Regions from separate parts of the Homo sapiens genome. Here regions 2, 3 and 4 are each linked to region 1. The links are contacts of gene promoters, found by promoter capture Hi-C in human tissues and cell types (Jung and others, 2019). All regions are on one chromosome and are shown on one strand. The core of a region is centred on a gene start or on the middle of the fragment in contact, and the rest is flanking DNA. Distances in the headings are between cores, read along the strand shown. Region 1 holds the start of CST9 (cystatin 9). Region 2 holds the start of CST9L (cystatin 9 like). Region 3 has its middle 26 kb from the start of CST9L. Region 4 overlaps LOC124904965 (a long non-coding RNA gene).

Region 1 (4,669 bases), core at 307-2,806:
CTATTCTTCCCAGCCCCCAAACTGATGCTGGGATTGCCATATCCAGGAAGCCATGTGGAAAGCTTTTAGGACTTACTGTCATTTAGGACTTATAGACCATAGTAAGGAGCTTAGATTTTATTCTAACGGTATTAAGAATGGAGGCTTACACTGAGGTCTTGGAGAATCAAGCAAAGCACTGGGAAAGCAGAAGCATGAGGCCTGGCCAATCTCAATCTCTGAGACTTCCAAGGTTCCAGCATGAATATTAGCAGCCACCATTACTGGACCAGATGCCCCTCTGAGGGTTGCATCAGGCTTTTAATTCTCCTGAGAGGAGGCAGCAAATGAGCAAGGAGGAAAATTCCTCTGTACCAGCATTGGAATCCTGAGGATGGCAGTGAGGAATCCACCCCAGGAGGCAGAGAACCAGCCAGAGCCTTGCACAGAGTCTTTCCAGAGCTTAAGCTCTGTGCGGTACTAGAGTCCCTCTGCCTTTCTTTCAGGCTCTTGGTGCTGAGAAAGGAAGAGCAATGCTCCTTCTCTCTCTAAACCAGAAGTTCTCCACTAGGAGGGCATTTTAATTGTTCATGCCTGAAGCCCAGATGAACTGTGCATTCCTGACCACATTTAATGATTTCATCAAAAAGGCAAGCATTTTAGGATAAAGGTCCATTGAGGAAGAGTGTAAATTGGCCTTCAGTTCATTAAGTGCAGACAGAGCAAGGAGCCCAGAGAAGGTGGAGATCAGAGAACTAACCTTTCACGGTGGCCTCTCAGGGCTGATGGTGTTCTTTATTGCCCTCGAATTCTCACTGTTCTCTCTCTGTCTGCCTGTCTCTCTCTCTCTCTGTCTCTCTCTCTCTGTCTGTCTGTCTCTCTCTGTCTCTCTCTCTCTCTCCCTCTGTGTGTCCTTGCTTTTCCATTTTCATTTTATGACCTGGAAATGTTTATCAGTCTCTTTGGTTATTTTCTCTTCTTGTCAGCTTCATCTCCTTAGAAGTCCTTATTTTGAAGTCACTCTTCAGTTATACAATGTCTTAAAAATCATGAAGATTGAAAAATATATTTTGCATGTGAATAGACATTTACCTAATTTAAAAAAAATTTTAAGTTCAATGTTTTCCAAAACTAAAACTACCGTAATTGGTTGTGGACTACCTGACTATGGACTGCTGATGGTGAACCAAGTCTCCTAGACTAGACATCTTGGTCCCTCACTTAGGGGCAGATGGAGAAGGACAGGCCAGAAGAGGATGTGGTCACCAACCTTTCTGTCCATGCTATCCTCCCTCCATGAACTCAGGACGCGCAACAGCCTGTAGGCATGCTCCTCCTTGCTCTGCACGTTGAAAGTGTTCAAGGCAAACTCCACTGTGGCGAGGAACATAGGATCCTGGACTATTTTATTATTACCACCCATTTCCTCTTCAGAACACCAGGCATAAGTCACCAGGAGCTGGAAGCCCATGAGAAGCAGTGACAGTGCCCAGGGCATAGCCTTCCTCCTCTGCGGACTCGACATGATGCAGGCTCCAGCAGCCCTTGCCTTTGCCCTTCAGATCCCTGGCGTCCACTGGAGCCTTCCAGGGCTCAGGTCTGGCCTTTAAATTCACCTGCTGGGGCAGAAACTCCTCCCTCCAGGCCTCACCTCTGCAGTTACACCCTGTCTCTCCCACACATGGCCTCCCTTCTTCCAAAGGCGTTTAAATCATCTCCTGTTTAGGGGAGAGGAACAGCACCCAGGCAGGTGGGTTGGAAAAGACTAGCAATGGGAGAGATAGTGCCCTGAACATGAGGCCCAGCCCCAGCTGCCCCAGCACCTCCGCAGGCTAAAGGAGACCTCTACTGGGCGCCCCAGAGTCAGAGCCCGGCACAGGAACACAAGTGTGAGAGGTATGAGTGGAAGGTGAGCCCTGGACTCAGCAGTGGGGGTGGGCTGGGAGGGGGAGGTTAGGTGGAAAGGCAGAGACAAAAGGATGGAAAGGGATGACAGTGGATGCTAGTATCATGGGTGAGCAGGTACAGCGCCCCGAGAAAGCACTGGGCCTCTTGAGAGAGAGGCGGGGAGCCCGGGAGGATTGGCGGGATGTCCTGCAGGTGTCTGCTCCCCCGAGGGTCTCGGGAGGGGGGCACCAGCCTGGGGGTCGTGGGCAGAGGTTGAGGAAATCAAGAGCAGGAGCCCCCAACCCTGTTCTCTGCACCTCCCTAAATGCAGCTTCCCAGCCCAGGGACGCGCTGCCAAGTGCTGGTACTAGGGGCCTGGCTAGTTATGGCTGCCCCTATTCCTCAAAGGTGTTTCCAGGACGGGTGGCCGCTTGCAATTGGAGCAGTGGAGAACCAGAAAGACGAAGATGCCCTCAGGGATGGCTGAAGTGCACCCATTAGGTTGTCACGGGTTCCCTCCTGTGGCCACAGCCGGCACAGCACTCTGCGGCACAGTTTGTGGGTGGAGATTCTGAGTTCTCGACCAAGACCCACATAGCCTCCAACTCCAACCGCAAATGGGGCTCTCAAAAGACTGAATAATGCACTCTTCACAGACCAGACTTAAGCTTTGTCCCTGTGAAATATGCCTTTGATGTTTATCCGTAGCTCCTTGTAAACTTCAGAAGCAACCAGCATCCCCTGATGTCACGTTAAAAAGCAAGTTCCTAGTTTCCCCACCCAAAGATTCTGACCCAGTAGCTGTGAGCAGGGCCAGGGAAACTACATTTCTCACCAGCTTCCAGAGGATGGTTGTGTTCCCGGTCTCAGAACCATACTTTGAGTGGTGCAGGTTCAGAATACTTCCTGGGAAGTGCATACAGACCAAACCACATATGAGAAGTAACTCAGCTTGAGGGGCATGGAGGTCAGGGGATGAGAATGGCTTTTGTGGGGCACACAGGATGGGGGACAGGCTTAGACAGCATGCCTGGTGATAAAGAATAAGAGTTTGTTTCTAGACCCTGTTTGCAAAGAAAAAGCAACTCAATGTGACAATTCCAGGAAAGCAGCCAGATGTGCCAAAAACATCACCCAAGGAGTCTGTATCCTTTCTCTGATGGCGTTGAGTTCACTGGAACTGCAGCTGAAGCGTAACTAATGTGGTTTCTTAGCTGGAGAGTGATGGTGCACGTAGGGGTAGGAAGGGGGTGTCAGTGAGGGCGGAAATGCCTTTGTGGGTTTTGGGATGAGCAGGCCATAAGGTGCTGTGAGAACTAGAATCCTGATGCCTGGAATAGGTTGCGAGTGTCCTGAGAGAGGCCTGCAATGCCCATGGAGGTCACTCTCACCTTGTAAGTTCAGCGGCTGACAAACTTGGGGCATCCTGCCAATTGCCAGTGGCTCCCCCACCATTCTGAGGGCCGATACCCACATGTGCTCCAAGGGAGTGCCCACACTCACTCTTACATGAGCAGTGGTTTAGGGTCCTGGGCACCAGCTCTGTCCTCACTGTGCAGCCAAGGAGGGGACAGGGATCCCCACACCCAGATGTGAGACCACGGGTGTACAGACACCATGGACCCTTACAAGTGTGTCTATTTTCTTGTTGAATCCCCAGTGGCCTGGGATGGCCTCACTTCCCAGGTGGAGAGAGACGGGAATATCAAGACATAGCCAGGTAAAGAGAAATACATGTGGGCTCCAGGCTGAGGAGCCCCGAAGACGTGGGTCAACATGTTGCCGAGGCCAGAGTGAAACCGGACGGCCCGGAGGGGCTGGCTGGCCAGCCCACAGGCACAGCTCACAGCTCTCTGCAGGGCTATCCCCAGGTCTCAGGTCTGGGAGGCTTTCTCTCCTGAGTCCCCTTGCAAGAGTTCTGTCTCACTCAGCTTCTTCCTGGGCACTCGTTGGCCTGTCTGTCTCTGGGGCCACCGGGACTTGTCTGGTGCTCTCTTTGTGTTGCTGGCACTGGCACCGAACACCCATGTGGTCTCATAGGAAGGTCCCAGTAACTCCTCACTGAAATGGACCTGCTTTTCCAGAAACGAGGCCCTGTATTTCTGAACGCATTCCTTTGAATGATTAGAGAATGCTGGCAACGACCAGGACCAAGCCACTGGCCCTTTTCTGTGAAGCTGAACATGAGGCGGTGGACGAGGGGAAGCCCAGTGACTCTTCGGGACACAGGACGCTCTCCCCAGCTCCCGCAGACCCTCCAGCTGAGTGCTCTCCCCGGGGTCGGACTCATGTCCCTCACTGCCCGGCCTACTCAGCCACATGCTCTAAAGGTCCCGTGCGACCTTGCTCACTGCCTGTTTCAAGCTGGGCCAGGCTCAGCGGGGCCTGCCAGTTTCAGGATCGCCTGCTGGGCTTTGGGATCACTTCCTCGGGACCCTCCCCATTCCCCCTGCTTGGCATTTCCCTAGGAGACTCCCCAGACAAGCCAGCATTCCCAGGGGTTTCCGTGTGCTGGAAAACAAGGTGGTGTCCAGGAGATCAAAGGAAGACAGCAGGGGCAGGGAGAAGCCCGGACTCAGAGCAGAGTGAGTGATCCAGTGATTGCTGTCATAGCAATCATCAAAGGGGCAGCTCGGGGCAGGGGGGTGAGCGGGGCTGGGTGGGGGTGCTGCCAGGGAATTCCAGAGCCCCCTCCACTCCTCCCTCCCCTCCTCCAGGTTTTCCACCTGGGGGGTTCTTCTTAGCTCAGTCTTCAGCTGACTTTGAGTTTTTATAATTTAAGGAATTAATCTCATATAGACTT
Region 2 (4,755 bases), core at 21-2,520, 37 kb before region 1:
GAAGTCCTCAACTTAGCTGGGTGCAGTGGCTCATGCCTGTAATCCCAGCACTTTGGGAGGCCGAGGTGGGCAGATCATGAGGTCAGGAGTTCAAGACCAGCCTGGCCAACATAGTGAAACCCTGTCTCTACTAAAAATACAAAAAATTAACCAGGCATCTGGCGGGTGCCTGTAATCCCAGTTATTTGGGAGGCTGAGGCAGGAGAATCACTTGAACCTGGGAGGCGGATCTTGCAGTGAGCGGAGATGACGCCACTGTACTCTAGCCTGGGTGACAGAGCAAGATTCCATCTCAAAAAAAAAAAAAAAAAAAAGTCCTCAACTTGGTGACTATTTTCATTGTTCATGCCTACAGCACAGATGAACTGTGCATTCCTGATTGCATTCTGTAGTGACTTCATTAAAAGGAGAACATTTAGGATTAAGACCTGTGGTCTGAGGAAGAGTGTGAAACAGTCTTCAGTTTATTAAGTGCAGACACACCAAGGAGCTCAGAGAAGTTGGAAATCAGCAAAGAGGAACTGACCACCCAGAGGTCTTTTGGGACTGGTGGGGGTTTCTTATTGCTCCTGAACCCTTACTGTTCTCTTTTTTAATTTTCATTTTTTAAATTATCTCTTTTTTATTACATTTTTTGGAAGTATTTCTCAATTTCTCTCTATTCACATTTTCTGTTCAGCCCTTTTCCTTATTCCGTATCTTCATTTTCTTGGTAGTCCTCATTTTGAAGTCATTCTTCAGTTAAATAATGTCATAAAAAGATGGAGATTAAACAATATGTTTTTCATGAGAGTTGATTAGGATCAAATTATTTGAAATTTCTAACTTAGATGTTTTCAAAATCAAAAACTAACTAAACTACCTTGTATTTTCTTAAGTATGGACTACAACTGGTGAACAAGACTCTTCAATAAGACCCCCTGTCCCCACCCCACTCCCATTTTTCACTGAGCAGCACATGCCAGATGCCAGGGCAGGAGGGTACGTGGTCACCAACCTGCTCCTTCCAGGAATTCAAGATGTGCCCCAGTCTGTAGGCATAGTAGTCCTTGCTCTGTTGGTTGAATGTGTGGACAGCAAACTCCACTGTGGCAGGGAGGTAACGAGCCATGACATTGTGTTCATCACAGTCCCTTTGCTCGTGGAAATGCCAGGCATAGATCAGCAGGATCTGGGAGCCTAAGAGAAGCAGCAGCAGCGCCCAGGACAGACCTCCCTTCCACGGCAGGCCCAGCATGGTGCTGACTGTAGGCACCGCTGACTTTGCTCTTCCCAGCCCCCGTGCCCACAGGAGTTAATTGAGCACAGACCCAGCCCTTAATCTTATCTGCTCAGACAGCCCTGTGGGACAAACTTGTCTCACCCCACACTGGCAACAGGCACTCCTACAGGACAGGAAGGACAGGATCCTGGATTAAAGGGAGGCAGCTCTGGATGTGGAGTCACTCATCTGCCATCCTTCTGCCCTATACTCTCTAGGCCAGCACAAGCCACAGGCAGGAGGGGAGCTACCCTCTGCCACTAGCTTTGAAGGCTGCTCCTTCAGAACCCACAGGTTCTGGTTGTCCTCAGGTGCTTGGTGTCCTTGGATGATTCTGTGCCTTCGCCTCCCACAGCGAACTGAGATAAGACCTGGGGACATCTCGACTCTCACTCTCCCCTCCTTCACCCCGTCGAAGAGAGGATCTCCGTTGTTCAGAAAAATAACTAAGATATCAGTTTGTTCTTTTGTTGTATAATACCTCAACAGTTGTACTCTGTGAACCAAGGGAAAAAATGAAAAAAATAAATGGCAATTTTTATCAACCATTTTGACCTGGGATGGACAATGAGTATTGTGAGAAAAGGGCAGGAAAGACAGAGACCCAAGTCCTGAGGCCCCAGCCTGGTCATGCCCAGCCCAGCCCTGCTTGCATTTCTAAACCTTGTCAGCCCTGGTTCCAGCTGAGCCAGAGCCAAGGTTTCTACAGGGCCCACCGCCCTACATCTGCAGCCCCACCACACACACTCATGTTTTATTAGACTGGAATATCATTCTAGACCAAATTTTTAAACACTTCTCTGGGAGATCACATGTTTCTGCCTCAGTGAGATAGAGGTTGGACCATTCTTCAGCCCCTTGATCATTTTTGTCTCCATCTGACCATCCTTCTTGGTGTTCTAGAGTGAGCTATTTTGCCAGCACTTAGGTGATACTAGGTGGTTACTTTTAAATCAATTTCCTGGCAATAACTAACCTGAAAGAGGAAATAATAATATTTTGTTGCTGTAAGAATGAACATTAAATAGTGCAGGACAGGTGAAGTATGCAAAAGTGAGAGCTTTGAGTTTGGCTGAGAAGACTATGGTGCTGCAATATAGGCAAGAACCTAGCATTGTTGCCAGATAACAGAATAGAAAGTTCAGTCCCAAGTCAGGGAGACTGATTCTACAAGAACTGTTCTGACTGTGTCCCATACCATGTTCCCAGATCACAGCAGGGCCAGGCCTGGGAAGAGCATCACTGCATCTGTCCACACTAGCACAGCACTGGCCAGGTCAAGACAGCTGCAGGTGAAGAGAGTCATGCTGCCTGACCCAACACTGGGGTGGTCCCGAGTGTCTCCTCACAGGAGACTTCACCCATCACAGACAGAAGAAAGTAGCTAGTGTGTGGGGAGCTGCTGCCCAGGAGCCATGTGCATCTTGATCTTCTGCCTTGACTCCAGGAAGTGGGTGACACAGAGTAGCTGAAACCTGTGTCCTGATTAGCAATGATAACAGGTGAAATCTGGCCCATTGCGTTGTTTCATGGGTTGTTTTTTTTTTTTTTTTTGACGGAATCTCTGTTGCCCAGGCTTGAGTGCGGTGGTGTGATCTTGGCTCACTGCTGCAACCTCCGCCTCCCAGGTTCAAGAGATTCTCCTGCCTCAGCCTCCTGAGTAGCTGAGATTACAGGCGTGTTGCACCATGCCCGGCTAATTCTTTGTGTTTTTAGTAGAGATGGGGTTTTGCCATGTAGGCCAAGCTGGTCTCGAACTTTCCTGGCCTCAAGTGGTCCTCCCACCTCAGCCTCCTAATGTGCTGGGATTACAGGCATGAGCTACTGTGTCCAGCCCCCATTGCACTGTCGAAATGTCACTGGTCTTCTGGATCACACCCAGCTGACCCATTCTTCTCATATTTATTTAACCTTGGCAAACAAACAGCTCAACCACACAACTATTTGCAAAATTATTTGTGAGATCTACTGGGTTGTGAAAGATTTTCACATGAGAAAGATTTTCAATCAAACACAACTCACAAGTCAAGGGATCCATGACACAAGATTCACACTTTCCTTTTCACTTGGCAAAGTCTTGCTTATAATTGTGAAGCAGAAGCCAGCACTGCAGGATTCCTTACCACTGCATGAGTTACACAAGAATGAAAACTTCTCATGGGTTCCCTAAAAACTGAGATTGGAAAATGACATAATAACAACAAAAATAATGGTGCAAATTGACATAGTTATATCTCATAGATGTGTCTTAGGTCTTTTCAAAGACAAGAGATAGGTCAAGAAAGACCTGAGGTGACCCTGAGCTTGCATCTCTGCCTGACTTCCAATCTCAGCACAAGCAAGGAACCTTGGCTAGGACAGAGGTGTGAGTGGCCTACGCATTGAAGGTGTGCCCCAATACACACACCAAGTGGGCTAGTTTTGGAAGGGTGTTGTTGTTGTTGTTACAGTTGTTTAGTGACTTTGACCACATGTAACAAGTAACACACTCTTCACAGAAATAGTTTAGAAAAGTCACTAAACAAAGACACAACTACAATCCACAGCAAGCAACAACAAATCTTAGGGAGAAAGCAGACTCAGACTCCTGGAGTTAACACAATTTAATATTTAAATAACCAGTTTTCCAAAAAAAATTATAAGGCATACAAAGGGACCTGAAAGTAAGCCCCATTTACAGTTTTCTTTGTGGTGCAATGCCTTTTCAGCTTGATGTAATCCTGTTTGTTTATTTTTGTTTTTGTTGCCATGATTTTGAGTTCTTACCTAAAAAGTCTGCCCACACCAATGTCCTGAAATGTTTTCCCAATACTTCTAGAAGTTTCATAGTTTCAGATCTTAAATTTAAGCGTTTAATCAATTTTTGTTTTTTTTATATATATAGTGTTTTATATATATAGTGTTTTTTTTAATGTATATATAGTGAGAGGTAGTGGTCTAGCTTCACTTTTCCGCATTATGATCATCCAGTTTTTCCAGCAGCATTTATTGAAGAGACTGTTCCTTTTCCAATGGGTTTTCTTGGCGTCTTTGTTGAAAATGAGGTGGCTGTGAACATGTGGATTTATTTTTGGGTTCTCCATTCTGTTCCATTGGTGTATGTGTCTGTTTTTATGCCAGTGCCATGCTGTTCGGTTACTGTATCATTGTACTACAATTTGAAGTCAGGTATATTTTGATGTCCCCCGCCTTGTTATTTTTGCTAAGGATTTCCCTGGCTATTTGAGGTCTTTTGTGGTATTATACATATTTTCGGATATTTTTTTTGTCCTTTTCTGTGAAGAATGTCATTGACATTTTGAATAAGGATTGCATTGAAATTGTAGATAGCTTTGGTTAGTATTGACATTTTAACAACATTAATTCTTCCAATTTATGAGCATAAATATCTTTCCAGTTTTTAATTTCCTCTTCCGTTTATTTCATTAATGCTTTATAGTTTTTTTGTAGACATCTTTTACTTCTTGAGGTAAATTTATTTCTAATTATTTTAT
Region 3 (4,934 bases), core at 1,763-4,262, 63 kb before region 1:
AAAACAATATTAAATAGTTATTGGCCTGATTCATTCAATGTAAAAAATTTGGAAATTTTCAAAAATATTAAGCTTTTTCAAATCATCTGTTAATAACCTTATGTAAATCTTACCACTGTAAATATATTGGTATGTATTTTAGTTTAAAAATATTTTATGTTTATATTTTTTGTAATTGAGACCCTGATGAATACTGTTTCATGATCTAGATTTTTATTTAATAATAAAACCTAAGCATTTCCAAAACTGTAAAATTATTAGAGAGCATCATGTAATGCAACCATTTGATATTATTTTATGATGCTTCCATATATTATTTAGCCAATTCCTGAGAATTGATTAAGATTTTCCCTAATTTTTAGCTACTATGGACAGGGCTATAATGAATAGTCTTATTTCTATATGTGTTATGTCTGATTTTTGTTTCCTTCTAGGCAAGGTTCTCAGAAATGGAATTAGTCATCCAATATTTTTTCACCTCTTAAAAATTTTAATATACATTGCTAAAATATCCTCTAGGGTTGATCTTGATAATTGGGTTATTCAGGTCCTCTGTTTCCTGATTGTTTTCTGTCTACCTTGGCTGGTCCGGAAGTTAAGCAATTACTTAGTCACCTCTCTGGCAAACCTGATGCCCACTCTCTCTGTTTGCACCACTGGCACACACAGGCTCCCTCGTCCCTGGATTCCCCCTCCCGCCCAGGTGCAGAAGCCTGGACTCAGTTCTGCAAGGCACTGTCTGGGTTGCTGGTGGCGTGTCCTATTTTCTCCCCAAAACTGTTCCTACACCTTTATATCTTACACAACTTCTTCTCTACTTGATGCTATCATTCAAGTTTACACTGACTTCATAGAAGTATTCTTACTTTATATTTTTATTCTAAATGAAGATTTTAGGAGAGAGGAGGGAAACAGTGTTCTCATTCCCATGCATGGATCCTGAAACCCACATGTTCTGCAGGACTCTGGTATGAGAGCTACTTGTTTCCTTCCAGCCCTACAGCTGCAAGCTTTCCTCCTTGGTTGCTGGCACATTTTTATTTCCCCAAGGGGTGCAGGACCTGGTAATATTCTTGCAATGTTGCATTCCCTGGGTAGGACTGTCTGTGCAGCATGGGGTCTCTGTAGGCTACAGGGAGTCCATGTGGCTGGATGAGAGTCAGGGCTGGAGATGGGGATTTTCCAATAATAACCTGTCCTTGGGCTCTGATCCTTGCTCTCCTGGAGTGAATAAAGCCACACCCATGATGGCTCAGATCACAAGAGGTGAACTGATGAGGACTCCTCTGGTGAGGGGGCTGGATCCTCTGTTTTCTGATGAGGCGTGGCTGACTCAGACAGATTAGCCCTGCTGAATCTAACTCCTGCCTGGAAATAGGAACTTCTGCTTTTGTTTCCTTCTTTTTAAAATAGAAACTGACTATTCTTTTTGTCTCTTTCAGGTGGTTTTTTGTACTTTTATTGTTGCATCTAAACCATGGAAATTTGAACTCACCATGCTGAAGAAACAATGCAAAGATATGTAGTTATCTTCTAGTGTGTTCTGCCACACTCATTTCCATTTTAAAGAAGAAGCAAAGACACTTGCAAGAACTAGAACAACACAGTTAACCCATTAACTTCATTTGTTTGGCCTTTTTGCATTTTTGTGTGTTCTTCATGGGCTGATGTTGAAAATCCATGATGTGTTTTGACAGCATTGCATAGCCTATTCTTGCTGGATACTTCCCCTACTAGCTGGGATAATCTGCTGCAATAAATGGAAGTGGTTTCTACACCTCACCCAACTCTGAGTACAAATTACTTTTCATGGACAAATCTTTCTAGATAACCAGAGGACCCAGCCCTCAATTGCTTCAAGCATGCTGGCACTCTCTGTAAGGCTCTGAGAGTCTGGCTGCCTTGAGAGTTTCCGTCCATGGATTTCTACGGAAATCTCCCTTCCCAGGACTTTTTGGAAGACACAGCCTGTTAGCTTAGAAAGTTAGTTTTAACCAGATCCAACCAGAGAGACAGCTGGGCCATTTAGAGATTTTCATTGGTTTTGAATTGAAGCAGAAAAGTTAATGATGCAGGGAGAGAAGACTACATTCGTGTGTGTGTGTGTGTTTGTGTGTATGCACACGTGTGCATGTCTGTGCATAAGTGTGTGCTCACAGTTAGATGTATCAGTTAATGCTGTATGACAAGTCACCTGGTCACTTAATGGCTCAAGCAATTGATTTATATGTCTCATGGTGTCTGTGAGTCAGGCATCTCTGGATGGCCAGACTGGGCAGCTCTGGTTGTCACATCTCATTGGGTTACACTCTGATATTGACTGTGCTGCCATTATTTAAAGGTTTGATGGACTCTGGAGAATCCTTTCCAAGGTAGCTCACTCCCATGCCTGCAGGTTGATAATGGTTATTGACTGAGGTCTCTGTTCTCCACGTGGCTTCTCCACAAGACTGTACGTCAGCTTGGTATCCTGGATGACTTGTTCCAGACACAGTGTTCCCAGAGACCAAGATGGAAGCCACTGTATCCTTTGTAAACTAGACTCAACCCAGAACAGCCCTGGCTCAGTGTGGACTACACAACGACATAAAGATAGAGATTAGGGTCACTGGAGGCCATCTGGGAGGCCAGCCACTACAGTGTGTACACATGTGTGCATGTGTGCGCATGCATGTGTATGGAGAGTGGACTAAGGTGATACCATGACCGTAAAGAGGCACTTTTGAAATCCTGATGCTTAGACAGCAGCACCAATGTGCAGGCTGGGGCAAGGAGACAATATTGTGTAATAACCAGTAGTAATACAGGGTCAGATTCTAACTTAGACACATGACGGAAGGATGGTGATGCTCAGAGGCCACCTGCATGACAGCTGTCCTTGAGGGCTCTTCTCCGACAGGGCTGACTGCAACCTTCTGAGCCTCTCTGCCTAATGGCTTTCTCTGCCAATGAAGGGCAGGCTGGAGTGCCAGTGGGTAATACCCTTGAGAGGAGCCCTCAGCCAATGATAGAATTTGGAGGATAAACATCCTGGCCTTTTATCCCCTGGGATATAACGCCAAGTTGTGTCTACCCAGTCACTGAGGAGTGTCCTGCAAGACTGAGCCCTAGCTATCCATATTGCTAATCTCACTATCCGTGCTGCTTCTGCCCCTTACTATTTCCACTTTTCAACTGCCTTTCTGGAATCATTTCTAAATAAGCCACTTGTACTTGAATTTTTTGTCTCCAAGTCAGCTTCTGGAGGAGCCAACTTGATAGTGGAACCCAGATCTACTGTAAATGGCACCCTGAGACCCCCAGGGGCTTGCCTGGCTGAGATCAGAAATCAGGATACCCTTTACCTTGACAACGGAAAAACCAAATTCTGCCAAAATATTTAAAGAGGTTTATTCTGAGCCATATGAGTGACCAAGAAAGGGAAACACAGTCTCAAGAGGTCCTGAGAAAGTGTGGCTGAGGTGGTCCGGTTACAGGTTAGTTTGAAGCATGTCATGGAGCCAGGAGTTGCAGGTAAAATTATAAATCAATACATGGAAGGTATATATTGGTTTGGTCCCAAAAGGTGGGACATCTCAAGGCATTGGCTTACAAGTTTTAGGTGGGTTTAGGGATTCTTTAGTTTGAAATTGGTAGAAAAAGTTAAGCTTTGTCTAAAACATGGAGTCAGTAGAAAGGAATGCTAAGGGGCTCTACTATCTGTCAGGTGATGCCATGCCAGAGTCAGGTTGGAAAACAAGTCACAATGTACTGGGTCAGAAAGGACCTTTTTGATGAAATTTTATGGTTTGCAAGGCATGATTCCTCAGGTCCTTAAACAGGAATTTCAGAAATAAAGAAAAAAAGGTAAGAGGTCAGTCCTCAACCTGCACTCTCTAACATCTGCCAGCAGTTGAGCTCTTGGGTGGCGGGCAGGTGAAGTGGCGTTCTTCATGGCCCCGCACAACCCTGGGCCCCTTTCTTTCCCATGTGCTGGCAGGGTTGTGGGGACACTGTCAGAGCAGTTCTTGTTCCATTCTCTCCCTGCCTCAGGAATGGGATCCCTATGCTACTAGCTGCAGCACCTGAGGACACATCTCTCTCATCTACCCTCGCCTTCATCCCCAAGCTCCGTGGGTATGCAACCTGTCCATCTGGGGGACTTGGTCTCCCTTGCTTCTTGGCCTGAGCTGGCCAGCCCTATGTGGTCTCATGAGCAGCCCATGGAGGAAGGTGTTCTTTGCTGAGCCCTGACAGTGTGATTGAACATTGGAGGGACCTGGGTCTTCACATGTCCCGGGCTGCTTGTTTCCATCATACTCATACCCCATGTTGTCTTAGGGCATACCAAACCCTACTGCCCACATCTAAGGTCAGTTTTGTTAATGTGATCTGTGCATGGGTTCAGGTTTAGCTCTTCAAAACCATCTGGCCTCTGTTGACCCACTGAGTCAGAGTCAGGATGAAGAATTAAGATCAAGACAGTTTCACTGACTCATGGAATTTTTGAGTTTATTGACTAACAGCAATATTTTTATATGAGCATGAAAGGAAATGGAATGTGTGGACATAGAGGCTCCTGAGACACCTCTAAATTGTCTCCTTCTCTACCAAGGCCGTGTTAGCCTTGGCCACACCAGGAAGGACACAGACATATATCAAAGAGGCTTCATGCAGTGTAGCTTGCCCTTCCACCTTCTACCACGTGAGGACACAGCAGGGAGGCCCTCACAAGATGCTGGCACCTTGGTCCTGGGCTTCCCAACCTCTAGAGCTGTGAAAAATAAATTTCTGTTTCCTGTAAATTAACCAGCCTGTGTTATTCTGTTATAGCAGCACAAACAGAAGAGGACAGTTCCTTTCCTGGGCTCAGCAGGGGCCAGGGAAGAACCAGAACTCCAACTCACAGGAGGTATGTGGACATGAGGGACTCTGGGTCTTGGGACCTGAAGTGG
Region 4 (4,510 bases), core at 1,639-4,138, 49 kb after region 1:
GCTACTCAGGAGGCTGAGGCAGGATAATCGCTTGAACCCAGGAGGCAGAGTTTGCAGTGAGCCGAGATCGAGCCATTGCACTCCAGCCTGGGCAACAAAGAGCGAAACTCCACCCCGCCCCCCCCCCAAAAAAAAAAGAATAAAAAAGAAAGAAGTTCTTCTGAAGAAAAGGCTTTTTGGTACTTGTTGTCACGTAATTATCAGATTTAGGAGATTTAACACCAATACACAATTATCTAATAGTAGTTCTTTTAAAAATTTATCCAGTTATCCCCAAGATATCCATTCCAACATTTTCCCATCTGCTCCTGGATCAAATCCAGGATCTCACTTTGCATTTTGTATCATGTTGCTTTAATGAACGTGCATGGGAACAACAGTTGTCCTGTTTTTGTCCTCCATGTCATTGACAATTTTTGAGGAATACAGAACAGTTGTTTTTATAATAATATTTTACATAATTTATAACCTTATAAATTTGAGTCTTTTTGTTTCTTGATGATTAGACTTGAGGCCAACTCTTTTGACAGAAGCTTTGCCTGGGTGAGGCTGTGTCCTCCTCAGTGCATCACATCAGGAGGCCCAGGATGTGAGTTTGTCCTGTTACTGGTGACTTGATGTTGATTATTATTTAAGGCAGTGTCTGCAGGTTTCTCCATAAGTTTCTCCATACTTATTGTTAATAAGTGACCTATGGGGAGATGCTTGGAGACATTATAAAATACCCTGTGCACCAGTCACTCCCCCCAGTGGTTTTAGTGTCTACTGATGACTCCATTCAAGTATGTTATTGTTCTGTGGTTGCTTCCAGGCTTTTAAATGTGTTCTTTGATTCAGCCTGCAGCAGGCTGTTAGGGAAGGCTCTTCCTTCCTAACACAGAGTCCCAAAACACTGGGCTTCAAGGGAGGTGGTGGTATATCCCTGTCTACAAAATATTTTGTGCACTTCCTTTTTCCTGAGCAAGATATAAGGTATTCTGGGCATGTTTTGTTAGGACACCTCTTTTTAAGACCTGAAGGTCTTATGGAAAATGGCAGCCTTCCGTTTTAGCTGTCAAAGTCTACAGGCTTTAACTGTGCTGGCTGGTGGCTGGAAGTGGGTCCAGGCAACAGTTCAAAGTCAGAAGCCTGAGATCTGTGTCCTTCAGAGGGCTGGTGGCAGCTTGTGCCTGGGCATCTCAGCCCTGGAGGGGAGTCAGGAAGGAGCCCCTGAAGGGGCGAGCCAGTAGCTGACTCTGGGCCAGTCCAAGGCCCCCACACACGACCCAGGCCCAGGCCCTGCCTCCCTATGGTGACCATGCTGCTGAGCTGAACTCCAAGGGCTGCTGCTCCTCCAGCACTATGGTGAGGGAGAACTTGATCTTTTTTGAGATGGAGTCTCACTGTGCTGCCCAGACTGGAGTGCCATGGGGTGATCTCAACTCACTGCAACCTTCCAGGTTCAAGTGATTCTCCTACCTCAGCCTCCTAAGTAGCTGGGACAACAGGTGCTTGCCACCACACCCGACTAATTTTTGTATTTTAGAGACAGGGTTTCACCATGTTGGCCAGGCTGGTCTCGAACTCCTCACTTCAGGATTTGATCTTCTTAGGCACTGTGGGCCTCTCCTCCCTCTACTTTCCCTTTGGCCCTCACCCATTCTCTGCCATCTGTGCTCTCTTATTCTGCAGTGGTGGCCACCCTTCCTCCACTCTGTGGCCCCGGGACCCTCTCCTTCCTCCCCTCCAGTGTCAGATCAAGGGAGGCCACATGGAGACTGCCCATGGCTGACCATGCCCTAGAGGGTCTCACCCCAGTCACAGAGCAGACTCCTGTGGGGAGCTATGCCAGGCACCTCCCCCAGGGTTTCTGCTTTAACTCCTTGCGGGGAGGCCCAGGCATTCATCGCTTTCAACCTGCACAGGTGATTCTAGAGTCAGACAGGAAGTTGTCAAGGGCCATGGATTAAAAGGTCAAAGCACAAGCTCCATGAGACAAGGGACTAATCTCTCCTCAGTCTAAAAGTCACATCAAAGATTTAGCAGTCAAGGATGGGGGAAAATTCTGCTGTGCATTTATTTTAATTCCCTACCAGGGCAGACCTGGAGGTTTTCTTTGGGATCCCACCAAGCCCTGCTTGAGCTGAAAAGCAAGAAGCACAGGTAGCAGGTAAATTCAGGTGCTCCTTGGAGCAGCTGTTAAGCTGGGGCTATGAGGCACTGCCTGGATCCAAGTCTCTAAAACAGAACAATTGCACTAAGATATTAAGAATACACACACCCACATCTTACCAAATGTTTTCATTTTCACAAGAAAAACACCATGTGCTGAGTCTTAGCTGCAAATCCTGTGAAAATCCCAGAAGGCATGGCTCACAAGTTCAGACGTGTATCACATGCACATTACAGAAGGCGAGGCTTCTCTAAGCCCCAGGGCAGGTGGGTAATAGAGACCAGCACTGCAGCAAATTCCAACATGCATCCAATCATGGTCTCAGTTGGCTACCTGGCTGTGTTGAGAAGCCAAACTCTCAGCAAATGTTACTCATAATTTGCAAGTCAGAAGTCTCCATTCCCACCCTCTGGTTGTGCTGACCCAAATCCCGCTGGCCAGGCAAGAGTCCAAGGGCTGTGTGGAGATATGGGGCCAGGAGAGCTGTGGCAGAAAGGTCATCCTATTATTATGTAGGTTTCTTTCTAACATAGCCACCATAGTGTTCAGGAAATTTAATTCCACATCACCCCGAGACTGTGAGAACTAGTGAAAAGAGGTCCTGATGGAGGGCAAGGGAGTGGGGAGGACTTGGATTGGGCAAGGCTGGGAATAAAGAGGTAGAGGCAGGAATGGAGGGTGGGGCAGAAAAACAAAGGTTTTTAAGCTAACTTGCTATTTACCTGCACCCGGTCCTCTTATATGTGCTGCCTCATTTAACCTTCAAACAACCCCAGGTGACATTTCCCCGGTCTTATAAATATTAAAACAGAAAACTGAAGACAAGCACATCCTTCACAGTTAGGCAGAAAGGGGATGCAAACCAAGTCTGTTCCTTTTCTGCAGAAGTGGGAAGTGTGCCAAGTGCAGAAACAGGGGTCTAGAAGACCCAGGAGGAGGCAGATAGGGGAACTGGGAAGGGAGGGACCCCTGCAAAACCAGGAACCCCACATGCATCAAGCCAGAGCCTGAGGAATGAGGGAGGCCCTCGTGTTTGCTTTGCCAACTGCGGTACAAATAACAGGAAAATAACCTGGCCTATCTTTATTTGTAAGCATCCAGATATTCTGGCAATCGTTTATGTAACCCTCAGCTTACACTTGCTTCTCAGTGACATTAAACTCAAGTCCTAAGATCAGAAGAGCTAAATCAATGACAAAACATGCTCAGGGTTTTGGTGGTGATACTTCAAGGAGAAGAAGAAGTTAGTGCAGAGAATACACTTTTTAATGATATGATCAGTGGTGGGAATCAAAATCTTACCCCGAAGGAGTTTATTAAAACAAGTAACTGATGTTAGAAAATGTTCTTTCTAGCTCCTTGCAGAATCCTTTGGGGATTCTGAAGCAAATTTCTTAAGCAGTCTGAATTCTCAAAATTTAGTCCAACATTCTTCATTAACAGGCCTGGGTAAATGCAAGCTTCATCTCTTCCAGAATTTAAATTTCTCCTTATGAGAACAGAAGAGGGTAGAATAAAGGAGTTTATTGTCAGCCCACACTCTCGTACTTAAAACTCAGGGCAGAAATCTCAGGCTGGCACCATTGCCACTTCACTTGGATGGAGAGCAGCATCTGGAATATGTTAGAAAAGGCCTTGCTGTGCTGCAGAAACCGGAACATGGGGCTTGGTCCAGGACTCAGCCCGGAATTGGCTAAATACACAACACTTTTGTAAAACGGCATTGACATAGGCTTTTGTTTCTCCTCTGCTTCGAACCCCACGCACGCCCATTTGGTGCCCAGCCTGACACCCACCCCCGCACCCCCACATAGGTGATCCGGACTTGGCTGCTGGGGCTGCAGGGATGCCAGCCCGTCAGGCAGGGCTCCCCCTGAGGACTGGAGGGGTTCCCTCAGCCCCCTCGCTTCCTGGGCTGCATTGAGAGGGCCGGTGTTGCCTTCTTTTCACTTCCTCACTGAGAGACTGGAAAAGGGCCAGACCTCTCCCACCCCTCGGGAGGAAGTTCAGTTCTTTTCCTTCCCTCTTTCACTTCCCCCTGCCAAGCCTGGAGCACGCGAAGGACCGGCCGAGGGTGGGCAGGCCCTGCCCTGTGCTCACCAGCGGCTGGGCAGTCTGGGCGGAGGAGGGCACCAGCAGGAGAGAGGTCCTACAACTCGGAGTTCGGAGTTCGGCAGAAAGGCCTCCCCGGGAGGGGCTGGGAGCTCCCCAAGCAAGGGCAGGCACTTCCCCTCCCTTTGGCCACTTGGCCCTGGAGGGCTTCTTTGGAGATAAATCCCACAGAAGGGGAGGGGAAATTATGTAACTCAGGGAAAAACGCTATGTGGAGTCCCATGTACTCACAATCTCTCTGGAGGA

Evidence for each region. The method cuts DNA at HindIII sites, captures the fragments that hold promoters and counts their contacts. A contact is called where the count stands out against the background at its distance.
Region 2: the fragment with the promoter of CST9L here is called in contact with the fragment with the promoter of CST9 in region 1 in 1 of the 25 tissues and cell types used here (adrenal gland).
Region 3: a fragment that was not itself captured here is called in contact with the fragment with the promoter of CST9 in region 1 in 2 of the 25 tissues and cell types used here (H1 embryonic stem cells and dorsolateral prefrontal cortex).
Region 4: a fragment that was not itself captured here is called in contact with the fragment with the promoter of CST9 in region 1 in 2 of the 25 tissues and cell types used here (hippocampus and ovary).

The regions. Positions count from the first base shown.
Region 1 is chr20:23,604,361-23,609,029 of GRCh38, forward strand. CST9 (cystatin 9) reads right to left here and starts at 1,557. Exons shown (of 2, transcript NM_001008693.3): 1 at 1,250-1,557. The coding sequence starts at 1,504. The HindIII fragment of the contact is 5,555 bases long and covers 1-4,610 here.
Region 2 is chr20:23,567,214-23,571,968 of GRCh38, forward strand. It overlaps CST9L (cystatin 9 like), which reads right to left and starts at 1,271. Exons shown (of 3, transcript NM_080610.3): 1 at 998-1,271. The coding sequence starts at 1,237. The HindIII fragment of the contact is 10,231 bases long and covers 1-4,755 here.
Region 3 is chr20:23,540,232-23,545,165 of GRCh38, forward strand. It overlaps the pseudogene CST13P. Among named protein-coding and RNA genes, the nearest start is that of CST9L, 26 kb to the right of the region's middle. The HindIII fragment of the contact is 4,942 bases long and covers 542-4,934 here.
Region 4 is chr20:23,651,830-23,656,339 of GRCh38, forward strand. It overlaps LOC124904965 (a long non-coding RNA gene), which reads right to left. Exons shown (of 2, transcript XR_007067748.1): 1 at 4,496-4,510; 2 at 3,397-3,765. Among named protein-coding and RNA genes, the nearest start is that of CST3, 16 kb to the left of the region's middle. The HindIII fragment of the contact is 6,534 bases long and covers 1-4,510 here.